Regions from separate parts of the Homo sapiens genome. Here all the other regions are linked to region 2. Evidence: promoter capture Hi-C in 16 types of primary human blood cells and fetal thymus (Javierre and others, 2016). All regions are on one chromosome and are shown on one strand. The core of a region is centred on a gene start or on the middle of the fragment in contact, and the rest is flanking DNA. Distances in the headings are between cores, read along the strand shown.

Region 1 (2,951 bases), core at 296-2,795, 310 kb before region 2:
TAATCTCAGTGCTTTGGGAGGCCAAGGCAGAAGGATCACTTGAGTCCACGAGTTGGAGACCAGCCGGCACAACACAACAAGACCCCATCTCTATAAAAAATAATAAAAAAGGGCCAGGTGCGGTGGCTCATGCCTGTAATCCCAGCACTTAGGGAGGCTGAGGCAGGCAGATCACGAGGTCAGGAGGTCGAGACAACCTGGCCAACATGGTGAAACCCCGTCTCTACTAAAAATACAAAAAATTAGCCAGGCGTCGTGGTAGGCGCCTGTAATCCCAGCTACTCGGGAGGCTGAGGCAGGAGAATTGCTTGAAATCGGAAGGCAGAGTTTGCAGTGACCCAAGATTGCGCCACAGCACTCCAGCCTGGGCAACAAGAGCAAAACCTCCGTCTGGAAAAAAAATAAAAAAAATAAAAAAATAAATAAACAAGATAATAAAAGAACCTGGCTCTTGTCCACAGTCATTAACAGTGACAGTCTTGGGAGACATTTAAACAGCTCTGAGTGTGCACAGAACAAAAACCAGGTTAATTTAGTTAAGCAACTGTATAGAGCACCCTTGATATAAGTGACCTCATCTGAGAAAAGGACTCCATCTTATGTATTTTTTTTTGAGATGGAGTTTTGCTCGTTGCCCAGGCTGGAGTGCAGAGGTGGAGCCATCTCAGCTCACTGCAACCTCCGCCTCCCGGGTTCAAGTGATTCTCCTGCCTCAGCCTCCCGAGTAGCTGGGAGTACAGGTGCACGCCACCACGCCCAGTTAATCTTTGTATTTTTGGTAGAGATGGGGTTTCACCATGTTGGCCAGACTGGTCTCGAACTCCTGACCTCAAGTGATCTGCCGTCTTGGCCTCCCAAAGTGCTAGGATTAGAGGTGTGAGCCATAGCACCTGGCCCCTGATGCCTTTTAAATTATAAGATAGGGCCAGGCAGGCGGAAGTTGCAGTGAGCCAAGGTGGCACCACTACTGCACTCCATCCTGGGCAACAAGAGTGTAACTCCACCTCAAAAAAAAAAAAAAAAAAAAAAAAAGGGTATCAGGCCAACAGGGACCAGATGTTTCCTCATCAGTAGATACTGCACCCACCCAGATAAAGACATAAACAAGACACTCTTACTATCAGTCCTTACCAGAGTACTCTATGGCCATGAAAAGAGCAGAACACCACCAGGTCAAAGTGGCCGTTTTACAGACAGTCTTGCTGTCACTTGTGAGAAGCCCTCCACATCTGCTGCTGCAGGCTCTGCCCACATCAGAGATGCTTCCTTGCCAGATTCTCCTTTTCGTTGAACTGGTTAACTTTTTTTCCTCTCCTCTTTCTCTTGATGTGGAATGTTTATAACATTTATGCAGTGGTCAAGTATACTATTATGTATGGTTTGTAATACTGACTGACTTAAGGAGAGACTTGAGCCTGTGTGCCCACAGCTGTGACTGCCAAGTGAATGGGAAGCACTAAGAATTGCCTCCTCGGGATCTCTAGTAGTATACATAACATGCTCCAGAGGGCATGGATTTGTCAGACTTTTTTTTTAAATAGGGTTTTTAAGAACAGTTTTAGATTTAGAGTAATTGAGAAGATAGTACATGGAGATCCCACATACCACATGTGTGGCTTCCCCTCTTATTAACATCTTACCTTAGTGTGCTACATATGTTATATATATATATATTTTTTTTGAGACAGAGTCTCGCTGCGACGCCCAGGCTAGAGTGCAATGGTGCAATCTTGGCTCACTGCAACCTCTGCTTCCCAGTTTCAAGCGATTCTTCTGCCTCAGCCTCTCGAGTAGCTGGGACTACAGGTACGTGCCATCATGCCCAGCTAATTTTTGAGTGAAAGCCAGTGCACCTGGCCCATTTGTTATGATTAATGAACCAATATTGAGACACAAGTAACTGAAGTCCACACTTTGACAGTTTCCTTAGGTTTGCCTCATGTCCCTAATGTGGTATCCATCAGAACACCCCATTACATTGAGTTATGTGTCTTTAGGCTCCTTCTCAGACTTTCCTCGTTTTTGATGACCTTGACAGTTTCGAAGAGTACTGGGCAGATATTTTGAAGAATGTCCCTCAATTAAAATGTGTCTATTATCTCCTGGTTAGACTGGGACTGCAGGTTACAGAAAGGAAGCATCTAGGGGTGAAGTGCCACTGTCACCCCATCACATCAGGGACACACACTGTCACCTCGACTATAACTGTGAGGCTGACCTGCGTCACTTGGCTGAGGTGGAGTCTGCCAGTTTTCTCCACAATAAAGTGGCTCTTTCCCTCCTTTTCTTTATTGCACTCTTTGGGAGGAAGTGGCTATGTGTGGTCTACACTTAAGGAGAGGGGAGTTACGTTTCCCTCCTTGAGGGTGAGTATCTACAAAATTTATCTGGGCAGCTTTTTTTTTTTTTTTTTTTTGAGTTAGGGTCTCAGTCTGTCACCCAGGTTGGAGTGCAGTGGTTGCCTGGCCTTGACAGCTTTTTAATAGTTTAAAATGAATTGAGGCTGGGCGAGGTTGCTCATGCCTGTAACTCCAGCACTTTGAGAGGCCAAGGCAGGTGGATCACTTGAGCCCAGGAGTTCAAGACCAGCCTGGGCAACACAGTGAGACCCTGTGTCTACTAAAAATACAAAAATTAGCTGGGCATGGTGGTGTGCCTGTAATTCCAGCTGCTCAGGAGGCTGACATGGAGAATCACCTGAGCCCGGGGAAGTTGAGGCTGCAATGAGCGGTGGTCTCACCACTGCACTCTAGCCTGTGTGACAGACTGAGACCCTGCCTATAAAAAAGAAAAGAAAAAAGAACTGAAATAAGACCCAAGTCCAACATTAGCAGAACCTCTCTAGGATGTCCACAGAAACGACTCTGGGGTTCTGAGGAACACAGTCTAGGCAAACCTGGGCACATCCCCTCAGTCCCACAGTTGTAAATGTATTGTAACACGTAACAGTT
Region 2 (2,701 bases), core at 143-2,642:
CTGGGTAGATCAGGGATTCTCTGGAGGGGGTGCTTCCAGGCCTCAGCAAATTGTCCTATTGGTTTGAGCCATAAAGATAGCTCAAGCTGGTACTAAGGACTGACAGATTTGTCAAAGGTCAGTGGCACCTCTACTCAGAATCCCTTTGTGGTTACCAAAATGTGAACCTTGAATATCTGAGTCAGATCTCAGTCAACTTAGGAAGTTTATTTTGCTGAATTTAAGGATGCACGCCCATGACACGGCCGTCGGAGGCCCTGATGACATGTGCCCAAGGTGGTCAGAGCACAGTTTGGTTTTATACGTTTTAGGGAGACATGAGACATCAATCAATATATGTAAGATGAACATTGGTTTGGTCCGGAAGGGCGGGACAACTCAAAGCAAAGGCAGGAGGGAGCTTCCAGGTCATAGGTAAATATGAGACAAATCATTGCATTCCCTTGAGTTTCTGGTTAGCCTCTCCAGAGGTGGCAATCAGATACGCATTTATCTCAGTGAGCTGAGAGATGACTTTGAACAGAATGGGAGGCAGGTTTGCCCTAAGCAGTTCCCAACTTGACTTTTCCTTTTAAGCTTAATGATTTTGCGGCCCCCAAATTTATTTTCCTTCCACATTTTTTTTTTTAAATCAGACTTAAGGTCTGCCTTGATGTTAATGCTGGAGGAGTGTAAAAAGGCATGTCCAACTCTTACTTCCCTTCGAGGCCAGAATAGTCTCTCAGGTTGAACTTCAGGGTCCCCTGGTAAAGGAGGGAGTCCAGTCAGACGGCTGCGGGGGAGGGGGGGCTTCGAATTTTATGTTTTACAGGCATTAGCGCCACCCATTTCTCCTTAACCCCAAACTTCCTCTCCCCACAACAGAAACGTCATCATTCTGCTTCCACTTATCCAGAAGAAAGGCAGAGGGCGCACACTGCGCAGCGCGGATGGGAAAGTTAACTGAATTATTTGCGGGAAGACAGAGGAGGTGGGGGGTCCCCCAAGCCCCAGCCATTTTGTGGCTCGTAGGGGTTGTCGCTTCCCAAGCCGTGAATGGCCCAAACCCGCCCCCCGCCCCAGGTCGGACTCCTGCCCCGCGCCCCTCTGGGTCGGACCCCAAGCCGAGCCCCCCAACCCCGCGGCTGGGCTGGGCGATTGGGGACGAGCTCCACACATGGAGAACCTGGCCTCGCCTCGCAAGACCGCGGGACGCGCAGATGTGAAGTGCGCCTGCGCGGGGCGCAGCCCCAGCTGCAGACGATCTGTGAGCGACGCGCCGGCGCAAGTCGAGGGCGGTGGCTTGGCTTCCCTGGAATGGGGGACGTCTTAGGACTGCGCCTGCGCGGGGCGCCGGGCCCTGGGCGGGGCCTTCCCGGCTGACGGCCTGCGTGCACTGCGCTTGCGCGGGTTGAGGGCGGTGGCTCAGGCTCCTGGAAAGGACCGTCCACCCCTCCGCGCTGGCGGTGTGGACGCGGAACTCAGCGGAGAAACGCGATTGAGGTAGGTGTCCTGATGGGCAGCTCAGATGGCTGGACTGCACGTAAGGAAGGACAGGCCAGGTGAGGCGTCCTCGCACTGCGTGTGCGTCGCTGGCGGACAGAGGCCTCCGCCCCCTTTTGGGACCTCCGAGCGCCTTCGCGATCTCAGCCACTTTCCCTGGCGTCCAAACGGGAGCTCGGTCCCCGTCACACCCTTCCCTGCGTGCCGCACCCCTTCCCGGCCACTCCCGCCGTCCAGCGCCTTCTACGGCCACGCCCACCCCACCACCATCTCTGTCACGCCCTTCGCGGCCACGCCCACCTGCCTGGCGGCCCCTGCCCCGAAGCTCGCGGCGCTGTCCCAGCCTGACCCTCTCGTGCCCCTGCGTCCACGCGTGGCCCTCTCGCTTCCTGCCCCCTTCTCACCCCCCTTCACTGGCCACCTGTTCCAACCCTCCATGATCCTGTTCCTCCCGAGGGCATCTTAGGAGGGCAGGGTCCTGCGCGCACTGCGGCCTCCACTCCGACCCCGTCCCAGTTTGGACCCAGGTCTTCCAATGAAAATATAATTATGCAAATCAGTAAGCATTTGTAACTACGAATATCACAAAAATAAGCTTCAAGTCTGGATTTAGAAGTGAAGCATGCATTTTAAACAAAGAATTGCTATGCAATTTTAAAAACACATTGATCCCAGAGCAGTGTGTGGATTACACTATCACTGGAAAAATACGAATTGAGAAGAAGGAAAAGACTGGAAGATGCAGACCTTGGTTCCTGTTAGTGGAAACACTGTAAGGTCCCAGGTAGGGACTTTTAATTGGAATTAAAGCTATCACACTTCTAAGAAATTAATGAATACTGATTTATTGCCTTAAGTCGACACCTGATCTAACAGAAACTAACAGGCTTCAGCAAATGAACAAGATTAACACCTTGCAGACTAGTGAAGAAAACACACTATTTGAAGTTTATGATTTTTAAATGCTTTTGTCTCTGTAAAGTATTGTAAATTTTCATTTCTACACTAATCTTCACACATACACATTTTACTTCTATTTGGTAGAGGACATCATGCACATTAGAAGTTAAGTGAACTCAATTATTAAGCAATGTAACAAGTACTTTGTGTCTCCTTCTCTTTTTAAAAGTAGAAATGGAAAAGAAAATGAAATAAATCAGCAGTTATGAGGCAGAGCCTAAGAGAACTATGGCAACATCAGGTGACTGTCCCAGAAGTG
Region 3 (2,702 bases), core at 95-2,594, 450 kb before region 2:
AGCGACTGTACTCCAAGAGGGGCGTCCAAGCCACTCCCCATTGAGCGGCCCAGCCAGGGTCGGGTGTCCACCCTGTGTGGTGTCCTCAAGCTGGGTGGGGACGCTGCCTTCACCCGAGTAACATGTGGGCTGCACTTCCCATAGGACCTGCCCAGGACACAGGGTTCCCAGTGCAGCTTCCTGTGGACCCTGGCACCCAGGGCAGCAACTGATGTGCAGGTGTTCATCAGGGTCCGTCCTTGGCACCCACACTTGAGGAGGGAGGGACTGGCAAGGGCAGTGGGAGGAGACCAGCATGTGGGGGAGACCAGCCTGGTGGGGAGACCAGCTTGTGGGGGAGACCAGTCTGCGGGGGAGACCAGCCTGGGGAGGAGACCAGCCTGCAGGGGAGACCAGCTTGCGGGGGAGACCAGCCTGCGGGGGAGACCAGCCTGGGCGGGGAGATCAGCCTGGGGGAGGAGACCAGCCTGGTGAGGAGACCAGCCTGGGGGAGGAGACCAGCCTTGTGGGGGAGACCAGCCTGCGGGGGAGACCAGCCTGGGCGGGGAGATCAGCCTGGGGGAGGAGACCAGCCTGGTGAGGAGACCAGCCTGGGGGAGGAGACCAGCTTGCGGGGGAGACCAGCCTGCGGGGGAGACCAGCCTGGGCGGGGAGATCAGCCTGGGGGAGGAGACCAGCCTGGTGAGGAGACCAGCCTGGGGGAGGAGACCAGCTTGCGGGGGAGACCAGCCTGCGGGGGAGACCAGCCTGGGCGGGGAGATCAGCCTGGGGGAGGAGACCAGCCTGGTGAGGAGACCAGCCTGGGGGAGGAGACCAGCCTTGTGGGGGAGACCAGCCTGGGGGAGGAGACCAGTCTTGCGGGGGAGACCAGCCTAGGGTGGGGAGACCAGCCTGAGGCAGCCCCACGATGGCCCCCACATGCTTTGGAGCACTGGGTGGCCCTGAGGGCTGGGCTGGAGGCCACCTACTGACCTCACTCCCTGATGAGAAGGGTCCAGCAGTGCATGTCCACCCCTCAGACCACGAGCGCCCGTGTCTAAGACACCAATTGTTCCTGACTGCACTGCTCCTGCCTGCACGTAACTGAGGACGCCCCCAACCCATGGCCACGGCCCCTCGGGCCGTCACACAGGGCTGCGGCTCATGGGGCCCTGCTAGAGCAGGCGTCTGTCCTCAGTCAGTGCGACCGACTTGAAACCCACCCTGACTCCCTGCTTCAATTACTTGGGAAAGTAAATCACCTCAGTGTTGTTTCTTGGCTCCGAGGGTCTTGTTTTATCAGCAGCCGGGATGCAACAGATGGGTCATCTCATCCTCATGGGAAGGGACGTACGGCAGAAAGCACAACCCAGTGGGCCGGCCACACCTCCAGCCCTGTGACGGGCACCCACCACCACCAACCCAGTGGGCCGGCCACACCTCCAGCCCTGTGACGGGCACCCACCACCACCAACCCAGTGGGCCGGCCACACCTCCAGCCCTGTGACGGGCACCCACCACCACCAACCCAGTGGGCCGGCCACACCTCCAGCCCTGTGACGGGCACCCACCACCACCAACCCAGTGGGCCGGCCACACCTCCAGCCCTGTGATGGGCACCCACCACCACCACCATCCCAGTGGGCCGGCCACACCTCCAGCCCTGTGACGGGCACTCAGGACCACCAAGGGCACTCAGGTGCAGATGCCCCTGGGAGAACACCACCTTCATTCAGCCCGGGCGGCCAGATTAGGGGAAGGTTGCTTCTAGGAGAGAAAGTCTTGAGTCAGGCTTTGTGGAGAAAGGAGGTTTCTACACCCCAAGCGTTCCTGACACAACCCAACCAGCCTGGTGTTGCACCACAGGGCTCACACCTCAGATCAAGACAACGGGGGCCCAGCCACAGCCCACTGACGAGGGCATGCAGGGCGTCCAGGATGCAGGGCAGAGAGAGAAGCGAGGGATGAGTCACGGATGCGCCCCCCGCTCTGAGCCCGACGGGGCCCTGAATGGCTTTTCCTGCCCTGGCTCCTCCCATCATATTTTAAATGCCGTCTTCCTCCCGCTCCAAGGAAACCTTCTCTTGACGTCAGGTACTCTCCAGCCACGGACCTATCAACATTCTGACAGTTTTCTGGTCTTGACACATTATCCTTTTAATATAGCGCTGGATTCAATTTATTAATATTTTAAGTATTTTTATGCTCACAGGGGAAGTCGATCTGAATCTCCTTTTCTTGTGATGTCTCGGTCTGGCTTTGGAACACTGGCCTTTTAAAATGAGCCGCAGAGATTCTGCGCCATTTTCTGGGTGTTCCTTCTTAAACGTCGGATAGAATTCATCTGTGAAGCTATCTAGAACTAGATTTCTTCTGGAAAAGTTTTAAATTTCTAAATCAATTTCTTAAATAGATACAACGCTACTTATATTTTATATTTTTCCCTCATGTGCGTTTTGCTGACAATTGTGGCTGTCAGGTAGTTTGTTGATAATAGGGGAGGCTGTGCATTTGTTGGGGCAGCGAGTGGGGAAATCTCTCTATCTTCCTCTCAATTTTGCTAAGAACCTAAAACTCCTCTTAAAAAAGTCTTGAAAAAGACAAAAGCACGAAGGAAACCAGAGAATATTTCAAGTTGAATGAGAATAAAAACATGACATTAGAATTTGTGGGGTGTAGTTAAAGCTTGATGCCCGTGCTCCACAACCACAGGAAATGGACAA
Region 4 (2,947 bases), core at 448-2,947, 400 kb before region 2:
GGGAGGCAACATATGAAGTAATGTCATTGAGAAATTTGAGAACACCAGGAATAGAGATGATCTCAAAAATTTCCAGCAACAAAAAAAGCAAAAACACAAAGGAACGATTTCCAATCTAAAATTCTATTCTCATTCAAATGATGAATCAAACGTAAGGATAGATAAGTCCAAAAAACAAAAAAAAACCATTTCTTTACTCTCACAACATCCTTTTGGCACCAGATGTAGAGAATTTCTCCCCACCGACAAGCAAGCATTCAGCTGTACAGCAGACACCAGCTGGGTATCCGCTTCAATCCTGCACCGTCTACCTGGAGATAGCAGCAGATCACACAAGTTGAGGACTCTGTGCCGCAAGACTGAGCCCCATGTCCAGTGTCAATCACAAGCCCCAGGTTGTTTTACCTGTCCTTCTGGGTTCCCAAGACCCCTTCCTTGGCTTTAATTTACAAGAGCAGTTCACAGAACTCAGGGAAACACATGTTTATTACAAGGCTATTTTAAAGGCTACAAATAGCCAGATGAAAAGATACACAGGATGAAGCCTAGAAGAGTCCCAAGAGCAGGAGCTTCTGTCTGCAAGGAGTTGCGAAGTGCCATTCTCTCAGCATGTGGACGTGTTCTTGTCCACCTTCCTGGAAGCCCCCACACATTTGGCTATCCACAAGCTCTCTGAACCCTGTCCTTTTGGGTTTTTAGGAGCCCTCATTACATAGGCATGATTGATTAAATCATTGGCCACTGGCGATCAACGTCACTTTCAGTCCCTCTCCCCCAACCTCTGGGAGTTTGGGGGGTGGGCTGAAAGTTTCAACCCCTCTAATCATGCCCTGGTCTTTCAGATGTCCAGTCCCTATCCTGAAGCTACATAGGAGCTGTCCGCCATCAGTCATCTTACTAGCATACAAAAAGACATCACTTTAGAGATCTCAAGGATTTTAGGAGTTGTATATCAGAAGGCAGAGACAAAGACCAGATATATATTTGATAATATTACAGTAGAAATAAAGACATTTTAGATATTCAAGCTCAGGAGGCTACTAAAGGACAGGCTCCATCAAGAAGAGAAAACCAAGCAAGAGGAAAATATGATTCAGAATCCAGGAAATGTCCAAGTTATGGCAAGAAGACAGGGGGTTCTCAGGAACATCTCGAAGAGAAAGTGGAGCATATTACCTGATGCACATGACTTTGTTGGGAAGAGCTTTACATTTAGGGCAGCGACTTTTGGGTAAAGTAGTGACAAGAGCATAGAAAACCAAGCAAATGAGAAAAACAATGTAATTAACTCCAGGAAAAATCAAAAGTTGTACCTAAAGGAAATGTAATCATAAACCAATAAAGGGCTCAACAGGAAATGGTAAACATACAGTTATACTAAACTGTGAATGCAGGTTTCAGCCAATATCAAACTGCTTAGGGAGACTAATAGGAGAGGAAATGTGGGTGTCGAGGGTGGGGGTGATAATATGTTGTGGGAAAGACAGTGTAAGAGAAGCTAACTCCTCTTCCATTGTAGGAAGTCAACAATGTCAAGTCAAGATTAAGAAATAGCATTATTTAAGTCTTTACATGAAGCTAATCACTAAAGATCCCTGAGTTGAGTAGTGTGTGTTTGGAGAAGCAGGGATTGATTTGGTGGAGGAAGAGGTTCTCTTCTTAGTGCTGTTGTTTTCTCAGTGAAATAAGGAGGACATGATCTAAGAATGTTGGAGGTTTGAAGAGAATGAGAAGACATGAAATAGAGTCTGGGGATGTAGGATTACAGTCAGGAGATGCTGAGTGCCAGTTTAAGATTGGTGGTCATACGCAACATCACCAAGTCTATTAATACCTCTTTCTGTATATGGCTCAAATTTTATCCCCTCTCTTCACACCAATTGCTAACAAACTCACGCTTATTCCCTTTGAATTTCACCTGGATGGCTGCAGCACCCACCTCTCAAGATTCCTGCCCTACATGCCATTCTTAAAAGAAAATGTGACCAGATCACTTCTCTGCCTAATCTTCAACAACGGGTTCTCACAGCTCTCAGAAGAAGGTGACAAGAATCTCTGACCTCACCCTGCTGGCCTGTTCCCCTCACCTGGCCACACAACCAAGCTGGTACCTCCACGCTTTCATCATGTCCTCTCAAGTACACTGTCTCCAGCTACACCCCTGCACTCCTCTCCGGGAATTCTGTTTCTCCTCTACCCAACCAGACCCTGTTCCATCCTCTGTTTTTTCCTTGCTACCAATTCAGGCCCACGCCTCATGCACATTCTCTGAGAATTATGTACATAAGTACCTGACTCTCCTGGATGTAAGCTGGGTGGGCTTAGCAGGCAGAGGCCCTGTGTCTTACTTTATCTCTGCATCACTGATGTCTGGCACATCAAGGACTGCAAGTTTGCTGAGAGAATGAATCGCCTTTTATACATGGAAATGTAAGCTCTAAACTGCCTCAGAGCATATGCTGGTGGGTGACAATCTGAGGAGGTCATGAATATAGGAGAATATTGAAGAGGTCACACAGGGGAAACAACTTTTCATTATGAAAAACTGGGAGACTGACATTTAAATGGTTTATCTGCATGATTAAATTAATCACATTTCCAACAGTGCATCAAGCATCTGAGAATAACATTATTTTGAGTAAAAACAGAAACTCTTCGGGAGAGACCCCCTCCCCACAGGTCAGGCTGCTCAAATGTCCACCATGTCTAGCAGCGCAGAGAGATGGAGCTCAGAGGCAACTTCCTCTTCCCTTGAACTCCGGATCAGCCTTTCCAGGTGCTTTAGTCGTTCGCCTAGACACGTTCCTGTCGCCTCTGACAGCTGCAGTTGCTCCCTCATCATGTCACTCTATTTGAATAAAAAAGAAACTGAACAGTTTTGGGATGTCAATAAACCACGACCTATCTCTGGGAAGGTACTAGATCTGGATCATGTTAGAAACCTCAT
Region 5 (2,914 bases), core at 367-2,866, 340 kb before region 2:
GGGACAGCCACGCAAGTTAGACTCTAGATTAAATTCCTCCCGCGGTTAGCCTGACCCGTGCCCGGGACTCAGTGGGGACAGCCACACAAGTTAGACTCTAGATTAAATTCCTCCCGCGGTTAGCCTGACCCGTGCCCGGGACTCAGTGGAGTCAGCCACGCAAGTTAGACTCTAGATTAAATTCCTCCCGCGGTTAGCCTGACCCGTGCCCGGGACTCAGTGGAGTCAGCCACACAAGTTAGACTCTAGATTAAATTCCTCCCGCGGTTAGCCTGACCCGTGCCCGGGACTCAGTGGAGTCAGCCACACAAGTTAAACTCTAGATTAAATTCCTCCCGCGGTTAGCCTGACCTGTGCCCGGGACTCAGTGGAGTCAGCCACACAAGTTAAACTCTAGATTAAATTCCTCCCGCGGTTAGCCTGACCCGTGCCCGGGACTCAGTGGAGTCAGCCACGCAAGTTAGACTCTAGATTAAATTCCTCCCGCGGTTAGCCTGACCCGTGCCCGGGACTCAGTGGAGTCAGCCACGCAAGTTAAACTCTAGATTAAATTCCTCCCGCGGTTAGCCTGACCCGTGCCCGGGACTCAGTGGGGACAGCCACACAAGTTAAACTCTAGATTAAATTCCTCCCGCGGTTAGCCTGACCCGTGCCCGGGACTCAGTGGGGACAGCCACGCAAGTTAGACTCTAGATTAAATTCCTCCCGCGGTTAGCCTGACCCGTGCCCGGGACTCAGTGGAGTCAGCCACACAAGTTAAACTCTAGATTAAATTCCTCCCGCGGTTAGCCTGACCCGTGCCCGGGACTCAGTGGGGACAGCCACGCAAGTTAGACTCTAGATTAAATTCCTCCCGCGGTTAGCCTGACCCGTGCCCGGGACTCAGTGGAGTCAGCCACCCCAGACCTCTCTCACTGTTATCATTTTTGCACAGGTGGTTTCAGCAGCTTGATGCCAAAAAAAAAAAAAAAAAAGGAAAAGCATTCTGAAAAGCCATGTATGAGTGAATCATACTTAACTTGGCCTCCTTTGGCTGCACAGCCATGCCCTGAATCGCCCTTGTGGATCCAAGTGCATCTGTGTGGCTTGAGGCAGAGCTTCCCAGCCAGACCCAGTGTGAAAGGATGGGACGGCCACACAGGAACCTGGGCCCCAACTGCTCCCTCCAGACCTGGGTGGGACTTGCCCGCCATGCACACCCTGCTGGGGAAGAGGGAGTTTCTGAGAGTGACAGGAAGTGGCCCAGCCGGAGATTCAGCCCTGGGATCTCTGTGGCCAGCAACTGTGGGCGGGGGGGTATGTGGACATCTGCTTCCATTTTCCCCAAACCTAAGATTCTGTTCCCTGGTCTTCCCCTGGCATTTCTTCCTCGGGCCCAGAGCCCTCTCCTTGGGGCTCCCTATTACCCTGAGGGGAGGGCCAGCCCACCAGCCCAGGACCCCATCCTCATAGCCACAGGCCAGGCCAGCTCTGCTCAGGGCTGGCTCTCAGCTGCACTCTCCATCTACCCTGCCTTGTCCTCCATGTCTCCAGGCACCTCCCGCCAGCCCCAAGGATACCCACCTCCCAGACCTCCCTCTTCCCTCCACCCAAACCCCAGGGGAGTGCTACCCCTATGGCCCATGTGGCTCCATAAACCCCCTTGGTGCTGTGCCTGCTCAGGGTCCACAGGCCCTCCCTCCTCTTCCTCCTCCTCCTCCTCTTCCCCCAGCTCTGGGCTCCATCCGGGTGCCCCTCCCCTGTGGGCTTTAATCCAGCCCTCTCTCCAGGGGGACATGGCGACTGTGGGTCTTCCTGACTCACCAGCAGCTGCACCTCCCTCCGCCTCCGCCTTCATACCTCTCCCGCACTCCCTGTGCTGCCTGTGCCCCAAAGCTCTACCCAGAGTGTTCAGTAAAATCAGGGGCCACCGGAGGCCCCATCCTGACTGGGGGTTGGACCTGGGGTGTGGGCTGTGCGCTTGCCTCGTCCCTCTTAGGGCAGGGAGGCCACCCCTGGCCGGTGCCCCACTGCCCCACCACCCCGTGGCACCCACCCCTCCCCACTTCTTCATATTCCATCCCCCCTTGCCCATTGCTCCTGCGGCTGGGCAGTTCCATCCTGGGGGCCCCTCCCCAGCACAGTGCTGGCCCAGACAGCAATCCACGTTGACTAAAGACTCTCAAAGGGGCTTGCTTGCTTTCCATTTTAGATGGAAGGGAACTGAAGCTGAGTGCCTGTAATTCCTGCCCAGGGGTCTCACAGCAACCCTGGGGTCCTGCAGCCACATACCAAGAGCAGCCTGTGGCCCTGGGGTGGCCCTGAAGGGGCAGGTTCCTGTGGGGTCATCCTCTGAGCCGGTTTAAAATTATTCTGACAGGTGACGGCCACCCACGGACTCTGTCACTTGCTGGGATTCACACACGGCACGGAGGCAGAGTGGCAGCAGGTAAGGAGCCCATCCATCCCACTACCGAGGGGGTGCGTGGGGGAAGGAGGCTCCCCCAGGCCCCTGCCAGCCCCCACCCTCCATCTTGACCGCCCCCGCAGGAACTGGACCTCAGACCTGCCCTTGTAAAAATGACACAGATGTTTGCTTTCAACACCGGGCTCCCCAAATACTTCCAGCTGAATGTGTTCACTAAGGAAAGCGGTCTGAGTGCAGAGGCCGAGAGCCACAGCTGACACTAGCACGTGGCGCTTGGTCAAAAAGGTCCAATCAGCTAGAGACTAGGCCAGACCCAGGGCGGAGGCGGGAGCTCTGCGTGGAGTGAGTTCCGGGTTGGTTTCCTCCAGACCCATGCGCTCCGCCTACGGAGGCCCACGTGGGCTCCGGTCCACATGGTTAACACGCACGCAAGCCCGTGTTGGGAGCAAACTGCTTCTCTGAAAGTCATGAAAAACCTTTTTCATTAAAAAAAGAAAAAGTTTGGCC

Evidence for each region. The method cuts DNA at HindIII sites, captures the fragments that hold promoters and counts their contacts. A CHiCAGO score of 5 or more calls a contact.
Region 1: a contact is called between a fragment that was not itself captured here and the fragment with the promoter of PRMT2 in region 2, in 2 of 17 cell types (monocytes and naive CD8 T cells). The highest score is 5.7, in monocytes.
Region 3: a contact is called between the fragment with the promoter of SPATC1L here and the fragment with the promoter of PRMT2 in region 2, in 3 of 17 cell types (M2 macrophages, total CD8 T cells and total CD4 T cells). The highest score is 7.9, in M2 macrophages.
Region 4: a contact is called between a fragment that was not itself captured here and the fragment with the promoter of PRMT2 in region 2, in 2 of 17 cell types (total CD8 T cells and total B cells). The highest score is 6.3, in total CD8 T cells.
Region 5: a fragment that was not itself captured here is called in contact with the fragment with the promoter of PRMT2 in region 2 in 1 of 17 cell types (naive CD8 T cells); the score reaches 5.0 in naive CD8 T cells.

The regions. Positions count from the first base shown.
Region 1 is chr21:46,319,506-46,322,456 of GRCh38, forward strand. The region is part of intron 1 of C21orf58 (chromosome 21 open reading frame 58); the gene reads right to left. Among named protein-coding and RNA genes, the nearest start is that of C21orf58, 2.9 kb to the right of the region's middle. RefSeq lists an enhancer at 1-34 and a silencer at 1,640-1,902. The HindIII fragment of the contact is 4,449 bases long and covers 1-2,951 here.
Region 2 is chr21:46,634,282-46,636,982 of GRCh38, forward strand. PRMT2 (protein arginine methyltransferase 2) reads left to right here and starts at 1,393. Exons shown (of 12, transcript NM_206962.4): 1 at 1,393-1,482; 2 at 2,158-2,266; 3 at 2,615-2,701. The coding sequence starts at 2,671. RefSeq lists an enhancer at 491-1,161 and silencers at 932-1,151, 1,262-1,811. The HindIII fragment of the contact is 1,501 bases long and covers 575-2,075 here.
Region 3 is chr21:46,183,115-46,185,816 of GRCh38, forward strand. SPATC1L (spermatogenesis and centriole associated 1 like) reads right to left here and starts at 1,345. Exons shown (of 5, transcript NM_001142854.2): 1 at 1,242-1,345; 2 at 1-660. LOC124905045 (a long non-coding RNA gene) reads left to right here and starts at 1,433. Exons shown (of 2, transcript XR_007067914.1): 1 at 1,433-2,073. RefSeq lists enhancers at 1-10, 11-614. The HindIII fragment of the contact is 9,696 bases long and covers 1-2,662 here.
Region 4 is chr21:46,232,579-46,235,525 of GRCh38, forward strand. MCM3AP (minichromosome maintenance complex component 3 associated protein) reads right to left here. Exons shown (of 28, transcript NM_003906.5): 28 at 2,555-2,848. The coding sequence ends at 2,690. All of the region lies in intron 2 of MCM3AP-AS1 (MCM3AP antisense RNA 1), which reads left to right. Among named protein-coding and RNA genes, the nearest start is that of MCM3AP-AS1, 4.8 kb to the left of the region's middle. The HindIII fragment of the contact is 7,035 bases long and covers 1-2,947 here.
Region 5 is chr21:46,293,803-46,296,716 of GRCh38, forward strand. It overlaps YBEY (ybeY metalloendoribonuclease), which reads left to right. Exons shown (of 5, transcript NM_001314025.2): 4 at 2,360-2,428. Among named protein-coding and RNA genes, the nearest start is that of YBEY, 8.9 kb to the left of the region's middle. RefSeq lists a silencer at 1,033-1,327 and enhancers at 1,033-1,327, 1,573-2,146, 2,573-2,867. The HindIII fragment of the contact is 6,025 bases long and covers 1-2,914 here.